2 separate regions of the Homo sapiens genome follow, and region 2 is linked to region 1. Evidence: promoter capture Hi-C in human tissues and cell types (Jung and others, 2019). All regions are on one chromosome and are shown on one strand. Each heading gives the region's core, a stretch centred on a gene start or on the middle of the fragment in contact. The rest is flanking DNA. Distances are from core to core; before and after follow the strand shown. Region 1 holds the start of RFPL2 (ret finger protein like 2). Region 2 holds the start of PISD (phosphatidylserine decarboxylase).

Region 1 (4,354 bases), core at 641-3,140:
CCCCCTGCCACGGGCAGCGCAGCCCGGGATAACTCCCCAAACCCGCTCTGTGCTGTGGGCAGTGCAGCCACGGATACCACCCTCAACCAGCCCCTCGCCACAGGAAATGACTCCCGGGATAGCGCCCCAAATCAGCCCCCAGCCTCGGGCAGTGACGCCTGGAGTAGGTCACCCAACCCAACTCCTGCGCGGGCAGTGCAGCACCAGATAGCGCCCCTAAAACGCCTCCCGCCACCGGCGGTGTAGCCCAGGATAGCGCCGCCAACCCGGTACTCGCCGCGGCAGTGTAGCGATAGGGCACCCAATCTGCCACCCACCGCCGGCAGTGCAACCCCAGATAGCGCACCGAACTCACTCCCTGCTGGGCAGTGCAACCCCACATAGCATCCAACCCGCCTCCCCACCCAGCCACTGGCAGTCCGCCCCCGATAATGTCCCATACACGCTCCTGGCTGTGGGCAGTGCAGCCCATGGGTAGCGCCCCCAACCAGCCCCCAGCCATGGGGAGTGATGCCTCGGATAACACACCCAACAAGTTCCCCACCATGGCACTGATGTCCCAGGTAGCGCCCCCAATCCTTGCCCCTCAGCGACCAGTGCAGCCATGGATAGCGCCCTCAACAAGCCCCTCCACTGACCCCCGCCGCTGTGGGAAATGACGCCCGGGATAACGCACCCAACCCTCCCCCGCCATGAGCAATGCAACACGCACTACTGCTCCTTACACGCCCCCCACTACATGCGGTGTAGCCAACGATGGCGCCCCCATCTCCCCCTCGCCTCGGGCAGTGTAGCTCCCGATAGTGCATCCAACCCATTCCCTCTGCCCCTCTCCTCCCACCGAGTCAACCACCGCCGGCAGTCCAACCCCAAATAGCGCACCCAATCCACTCCCTGCCAGGCAGTGAAGCCCCCCGATAGCACCCAACCCGCACCCCCACCCCCGCCACTGGCAGTCCGCCCCGATAACGCCCCAACACGCTCCTGGCTGTAGGCAGTGTAGCCCATAGATAGAGCCCCCAACCAGCCCCCAGCCAAGGGCAGTGACGCCTCGGATATCACAGCCAACAAGTTCCCTGCCATGCGCACTGATGTCCCAGATAGCGCCCCCAACCCGTACCCCAGCGCGACCAGTGCAGCCACGGATAGCGCCCCCAGCAAGCCACCCCGCGGCTGCGGGAAATGACGTCCGGTAAAGCACCCAACCTTCCCGTGCTGTAGGCAGTGCAGCACCCAATACTGCCCCTAACACGCCTCCCACCACCGGGTTGTAGCCCACGATGGCGCCCTCAATCCGCCCCCGCTCCCACCTCGGGCAGTGCAGCTCCAGATCGTGCATCCAACCTGTCCCCCTCCCCGCCCCCTGCCGCAGGCAGTGAGCCCTGGATAGCTCATCCACCCCGCCACCTTTCTACATTCTGGCTGCGGTCTAGTCTCCCTCACCGCCACCAACGGCAGCGAGCCGAGCCATGCTGCTGCAGGCTTTCAAGCCTCCAGCGTGGGACAGGTGACTCCTCCTCTAACCTGGGCATGGAGCAGATGGGCTGGCAGACGCAGAAGTGCCTGGAATGGCAAGAACCCCTCCCCCCACAGACCGAGGTTATGCAAGTAAGGTTTCTGGACTACATGTTCAGATTGGATGAGAGAAAAACCTCTAGGTCTACTCTGATTGTGCTTTATTTTCACGTTCTGACTGGATGACAGCAAGTCTTAGGATAACCAATCAGAACAAGATAACAAAGCCCGATCAGAGTAGGCCTAGAGGTTTCTCTCATCCGATCAGACTATGTAGTCGAGAAACTTCATTTGCATTAAACTCAGTATATAAAGGATGCCAAGAGGGGTGGCTTGCCCTTCCAGGCTCATCTGCGTCGGCCTGCGTAGCTGCTCTGTGCCCGGCTTAGAGGAGAAGGAGGAGGAGCCACTTGCCGCGCATGCCAGAGGCTAGAGTCATCTACCGCGCATGCTGGAGGCTGGAGCCTACAGTGGCTCACCTCGCTGCTGCGGTTGGTGGCCGCGAGGGTGACTACAGCGCAGCCAGAATGGTGAAAAGGTGGCAGAATAGGTTCGTTATCCCAGGCCGTACTGCCTGTGGCGTGGGGGGCGGGTTGGGGGCCCTATCCAGGGCGTCACTGCCCGTGTTGGGGGGCTGCTTGAGTGTGGTACCTCGGGCGTCACTGCCCGCTGAGGGGAGTGGGGTGGGGGCGCTATCCGGGGGCGCTATCCAGCCTATGGCTGGAGATGGGTTGGGGCGCTATCCGAAGCTGTAATTCCTGCGGCAGTGGGGAGTTTTGGGGGCACTATCTGGGGATGCACTGCCCGCGGCCGGGGGGCGGGGGTGAGTTAGTAGAACTATCAGGTGCTGCAATGCCCTGATGCCCTTGTTGGGGACAGGTTGTGGGGGGCTGGTGGGTGCAACACTGCTGGTGGCGAGGGTGGGTGCTGCTATCCGGTGCTACTCTGCCTGTGGGGGACGGGGGCGGGCGTGATATCCAGGGCATCATTGCCTGCATCTGGGAGCTGGTTGGGGACACTATCCATGGCTGCACTGCCCACAGTGGGGAGCGGGTTGGGGGCACTATTTGGGGCTGCAATGCTGGTGGTGGGGGACGGGTTAGGGTCACTATAGGGTGCTACACTGCTGGCAGTGGGGAGGGGGTTGTTGAGGGCGCTCTCTGGGGGCTACACTGAGACAGGTAGCGGGGGGTTGTTGGGATTGGTACCGGGGCTGGACTGCCCATGGAGAGGGGGTGGGGGCGTTGGTTGGGGGCGCTATTGAGGGCCGGGTACACTGCCTGCGGTGGAGGGGTGGGTTGGGTGCTATCAGGGGTCTGTACTGCCTAGCAGGGAGCGGGTGGGTGTGCTATCTGGGGCTGCACTGGCTGCAGCAGGGGCAGGTTGGGTGCACTATAGGGGGCTACACTGCCCTTGGCAGGGGGTGGTTTAGGTGAGCTGTCTGTGGCCGCACTGCCCGAGGTGGGGAGTAAGTTTGGGTGCTATCTGTGGCTGCACTGCCTGGAGGCAGGAAGTGGGTTGAGGGTGCTATCCTGGGCTGCTTCTCCTGGTGGGGAGCAGGTAGGGGCACTATCCAGGGTTGCACTGCCCGGGGTAGGGGGCGATTTGGGTGCCATATCGGGGCATCACTGCCCACGGCAGGGGTCTGGTTGGGGTCGCTACCCATGGCTACACTGTCTACAGCCACTGCCTACGGCAGGGAGCGGGTTGGGGGCGCTATCCCGGGCTGCGCTGCCCAAGGCAGGGGGTGGGTTGCGGGTGCCATTGGTGCTGCAGTGTCCGAGGCAGGGGCGGGTTGGGGTTGCCATCTGGTGCTACACTGCCAGCTGTGGGGGAGGGTCGGGGGCGCTATCGGGGGCTGCACCGTCCCCCTGGTGGTGGGCAGCGGAGGTGTCAGTGACAGCGGTGGTCAGAGGAGGTGAGAGGGACTCCAGTCTCTAGAGGGCCATCTCCTTCTGCTCCTGGCCAGCACACAGCATTTCTGCGGGGATCCTGAGCACGGCCCGGCCCCTAGACCTGCTGTGGTTCCCAGGCGCGCGCCCTCTCACCATGTGTTGCTGAGACCGTCTGGGACCCCTGGGCACACAGTAGCGGACATCATGGAGTGACAGGGCCCTGTGGGTGGAGGTGTCAGGAAGAGGTACCGGCACTTGGGTGGGGAGGGCTGGCTGGGGTTGAGTTTCTGCTGCTTCTGCTTCCTGAGGAGCGCAGCCAGGGGTGGGCCCAGCGATTCGTGCCGAGTGGGAAGCCCGGACGCTGTACTGTGGTGTCTCCAGTCCCCACCCCAGGCCCCAGTTCCTGGTGAACTTGGGCCAAAAAGGGAGGCTGGGCTTTGGAGGGTAGGTGTGAGTGCCTTTGCTAAAACTGGCCCCTGCCACCTAGTGGCCAGCATGACAAGGTGAGACTCTAATGCTACCACTCTCTGCATCCTGTTCTAGGCTTATCTGACTTTGCCTGCCCAGTTGCTCCGTGCCAGGAGGAGGAGCCACTTATTCCATGCTGGAGGCTGGAGCTGGGGGCACCGCAGCTCACCTTGCTGTGGTTGGTGGTGGCGATGGAGACTACAGAGCACCAGAGCGGTAGGAGAGCAGCAATGGAGACTGCAGAGTGCCAGAGCAGTAGGAGGGCGGCTGGCTGCTGCCTGGGCAAGGGCAGGCCTGCTGTGGTATCCAGGTGGTAGGAGCCTTGTAGGGTGGACCAGTGGACTGAGGGCAACAGGAACAGTGGTTGTATTGGCATCAGTGCTAGTGGTGGCAGCAGCAGCAAGTCTGGAGGTTGGGAAGGCGGGTAGGAGCGCTCCAGGGCTGACCCGCCCGGCTGGGCCTGGCCTGGGGTGGGT
Region 2 (4,354 bases), core at 634-3,133, 540 kb before region 1:
AGGTACAGCCTCCTCTCATCATTTAAAAAAATTATTTTAGGTGGACTGCGATGGCTCACTTCTGTAATGCCAGCACTTAGAGAGGTGAAAGTGGGTGGATCACTTGAGCCCAGGAGTTCAACACCAGCCTGGGCAACATGGTGAAACCCTGTCTCCACCCCCACCCCCAAAAAAAATGCAGCTGGGCGGGGTGGCGTGCACCTGTGGTCCTAGCTACTCAGGAGGCTGAGGTGGAAGAACTGCTTGAGACCAGGAGGTGGAGGCTGCAGTGAGCCATCATCACACCACTGCACTCCCTCTTGGGCAACAGAGTGAGGCTCTGACTTCCAAAACAAATAACAACAACAAAAAACAATTTTTTAAGAGTCTCATTTTAGTCCTTTCAATTCGTGACACACTTTATTTATTTTTAATTTTTTTGAGACAGAGTCTCACTCTGTCGCCCAGGCTGGACTCCAGCGGCGCAGTCTTGGCTTATTGCAACCTCCGCCTCCCAGGTTCAAGCAATTCTCCTGCCTCAGCCTCCCAAGTAGCTGGGATTACAGGTGCCTGCCACCATGCCCGGCTAATTTTTGTATTTTTTAGTAGAGACAGGGTTTCACCACATTGGCCAGGCTGGTCTCGAACTCCTGACCTCAAGTGATCCACCCACCTTGGCCTACCAAAGTGCTGAGGTTACAGGCGTGAGCCACCGCGCCCAGCCTGTGACACACTTTAAATGAATTCAGGGTTGACTCATACACAGCACGCCTGGTAATAACATTGAAAACAAAGTCTCCTGCCCAAATTCTAACAGTTACCACCACAATGCAGAGCCCTCTCCTGAGAGATAATCATTTCTGTACAGTTAATGATGAAAGAGTGACGCTTTCATAACAAGACCAATGATGGTTTCTGTTCCCTCTCAGTCCAAATCCAGTGTCCGTCTCCTCCCAAAACAATAGGTTATCCTCTGATCAACGCTGACAAAATGAACCCTGTAGGAAACACACAAGTATGGCGCATCTCTCAAATCTTAGCTCTTTGAAATGACACCAGGCAGCCGACTCTGAATCACAGCTACATTTTAATCCATTTTCCGACACTCCAAATGCTCTAAGCTATTTTCTGTATAACCACTGCCCTCACGGCGGGCAGCCTGAGAGAAAGATCGTCGCGTGAGGGGGTACCTTGATGGGGGTCCGGGCTCTGCTACAAACTGGCTAGGTGAACTTGAGCAAATCCCTCCCTCTCTCGGAGCCTCAATCTCATTAACTCCAAAGAGAGACAGCTGGACTCAGAAGACCCCTCAAGTCTCCCACATTTCTAAGAATCTAACAGCTGGGGGTCACAAGGGTAACCAAGACTCTAGCCCCATAACATATTGTTTTGAGATTACCTAACCTAACCCTCTAGCTTCAAAGACTAAGATCCAGAAATGAAAGTTGCCTGACACTCAATCTAGTGTCCTTCCCACAGGACATCATTCCTTCTACGAAAACGAACACACGAGAAAATGGCATCTGAACATCTGAAAGCCCTGCCTCGACTCAAGAGACGGGCAGGTAGCCTATTTCATCTGATTTTTGTCCCTCGTGAACTTCCACCTAGCTGGAAAGGGCAAAGCGCGAGCTTCTAGGCCACACCCTAAGTAAATCCGGACCGCCCTACGCAGGAGCAGTCGCACCTGCTCCTAAGCTCGAGGTGAAGGTGGCTCCGTCTCCACCCGAGCTCGCCTCAGAGCGAGCCCGCGACACAGAAACATCTCTCTTCAGACCCCAGCTTGGTCCAGGTTGCCCCACGCCCCAAGGTAGTCTCTCCGCGCTGCTATACCTGCTCCGCCACGGCGCGACCCCGTGCAGTAATCCCAGACATCGGTGCCCCACGGACGTCGCCATCTTGTCTGCTCCTTCTCAGCGTGCCACGCCCCCTTCACACGCTGGGCGCACGCTTAAGGCGTCACGAGTCTCGAGTTCAGTGGGCCAATGAGAAAAGCGCGGGTTGGGGGCGGAGCCGACTAAGCTCCGCCCTGTGGCTACTCCCCACCTAACCCGCTTGGCACCTGCGGAGGTAGGGGAACTAGTGGAGCTGTAGGTTTCGCTAAACCTGGGCTTGGTCGCAGCACTGCCACTCCTCCTCCTTCCCTCTGGGTGCCTTTCCTCATGTACCTGGAAAATCTGAGTCATCCAAGATCCAAGAATGTCGTTTCAAGTGATCGAACTTGCTCATTTTACGGATGGGGAAACTGGGCATCCATGACTCAGCTCTCGTTTTTTAAGCGCCGGAGTGTGTTGTGAGCACTTTGCAAGCATGGTGTCATATCATTCTTATCTCCTACCGCTGTGCTGCCAGGGAGACCGGGGGCAAACGGTCTTGGATCACCTAGAAATGCAACCAGTCGTTAAATTCGGTGCCTGGTGCTTGCTCTTGAAAAGGTTCCTATCTTCAATTGTAAGAGGAAAACGAGTTTTCAATCATGTCTGCTACTTTTTACTGAGCACTGACTAGAGACTCGCAGCTAGGCCCGAGACATTATCCCCATTTTAAAGATGAGGTACCTGAGGCTCAGGAAGGTTAAGCAACATCTTCAAGGGTACATAAAGGGCATATGCCCAAAGACTATAAAATAGTGAAGCCAGAATTTGAACATACGTCTCTGACTCCAAAAACCATGTCCTAAACATCTTCTTCTTTTTTTTTTTTTTTTGAGACAGAGTCTCTCATTGTCGCCCAGGCTGGAGTGCAGTGGCGCGATCTCGATTCACTGCAAGCTCCGCCTCCCGGGTTGACGCCATTCTCCTGCCTCAGCCTCCCGAGTAGCTGGGACTACAGGCGCCCGCCACAACGCCCGGCTAATTTTTTTATATATATTTTTCGTAGAGACGGGGTTTCACCATGTTAGCCAGGATGGTCTCGATCTCCTGACCTCGTGATCCGCCCGCCTCGGCTTCTCAAAATGCTGGGATTACAAGCGTGAGCCACCGCACCTGGCCTAAACATTCTTCCTTTTAAGCCCTTTGTCAGAATCTGGCAGAATTTGGGTCCAACAACTGAAGGAATGCAGCCCTACTTTTTCATCTGCTAAGCTGATAATCACAGTTGCCTTCACCAGGCATTTGACAGGAGGAGGAATATGCTCCCTGGTCCCTGCAGGTATTTCTGTGTAGTTGGCTTAAGTTCAACTAGGGCATACTCAGCTCCTACAGAGAGCTTAAAAGGCACCAGGTTTGGTATTGGGGGGAAGAAACCTCCCTTTGTCATGGTTTTCAAAAGTCGGAAAAGAAAAAAACAAATGTATAGAATTGGTTTTGGCCGGGCGCAGTGGCTCACGCCTGCAATCCCCACTCACTGGGAGGCTGAGGTGGGAGGATAGCTTGAGCCAAGGAGTTGAGACCAGCCTGGGCCGGGCGCGGTGGCTCACGCCTGTAATCTCAGCACTTTGGGAGGCCGAGGTGGGCGGATCACGAGGTCAAGAGATTGAGACCATCCTGGCTAACACGATGAAACCCCATCTCTACTAAAAATACAAAAAAAATTAGCCGGGCGTGGTGGCGGGCGCCTGTAGTCCCAGCTACTCTGGAGGCTGAGGCAGGAGGATGGCGTGAACCCGGGAGGCGGACTTGCAGCGAGCCGAGATCGCGCCATTGCACTCCAGCCTGGGTGACAGAGTGAGACTCCGTCTCAAAAAAAAAAAAAAAAAAAAAAAGGAAGTAAAAAAGAGACCAGCCTGGACAACATAGTGAGACTCCATCTCTTTTTTTTTTTTTTTAAGAGGCTGGGCACCGTGGCTCACCCTATGATCCCAGCACTTTGGGAGGCCAAGGCGGGCGGATCACCTGAGGTCAGGAGTTCGAGACCAGCCTGGCCAACATGGTGAAACCCCATCTCTATTAAAAATACAAAAATTAGCTGGGCATAGTGGCGCCTGCCTGTAATCCCAGCTACTCCAGAGGCTGAGGTACGAGAATTGCTTGAACCCGGGAGGGGGAGGTTGCAGTGAGCTGAGATAATGCCATTGCACTCCAGCCTGGGAGACAGAGTGAGACACCATTTAAAAAAAAAATACATATTGGTTTAATTGGTTTTACTATCCAATTGAGAGTAGTAAACCAGCAGGGAATGGGGGGAAATTATTTCCAAATGAAGTGCATTGGGAAAACTGAATATCCATATACAAAAAGTAAAGTGCAGCCTTACACCATATACAAAAATTCATTCAAAATGGATCAGAGATGTAAACTGAAGAGCTAAAACTATAATACTCTTAGACGAAAACATAGGGGAAATCTTCATGACGTTGGATTTAGCAATGATTTCTTGTATATGACGTTAAAAGCACAGGCAACAACAACAAAAACAACAAAAAGATATACTT

What was found. The method cuts DNA at HindIII sites, captures the fragments that hold promoters and counts their contacts. A contact is called where the count stands out against the background at its distance.
Region 2: a contact is called between the fragment with the promoter of PISD here and the fragment with the promoter of RFPL2 in region 1, in 4 of the 25 tissues and cell types used here (heart left ventricle, liver, mesendoderm cells and 1 more).

What each region holds. Positions count from the first base shown.
Region 1 is chr22:32,203,183-32,207,536 of GRCh38, forward strand. It overlaps RFPL2 (ret finger protein like 2), which reads right to left and starts at 1,891. Exons shown (of 5, transcript NM_001394555.1): 1 at 1,525-1,891. It overlaps SLC5A4-AS1 (SLC5A4 antisense RNA 1), which reads left to right and starts at 1,933. Exons shown (of 4, transcript NR_149072.1): 1 at 1,933-2,065; 2 at 3,954-4,094. RefSeq lists an enhancer at 3,335-4,065. The HindIII fragment of the contact is 14,140 bases long and covers 1-4,354 here.
Region 2 is chr22:31,660,332-31,664,685 of GRCh38, forward strand. PISD (phosphatidylserine decarboxylase) reads right to left here and starts at 1,884. Exons shown (of 8, transcript NM_001326411.2): 1 at 1,813-1,884. The coding sequence starts at 1,877. RefSeq lists enhancers at 616-1,509, 805-944, 918-2,117, 1,335-1,384, 1,625-1,924 and 1 more. The HindIII fragment of the contact is 10,896 bases long and covers 1-4,354 here.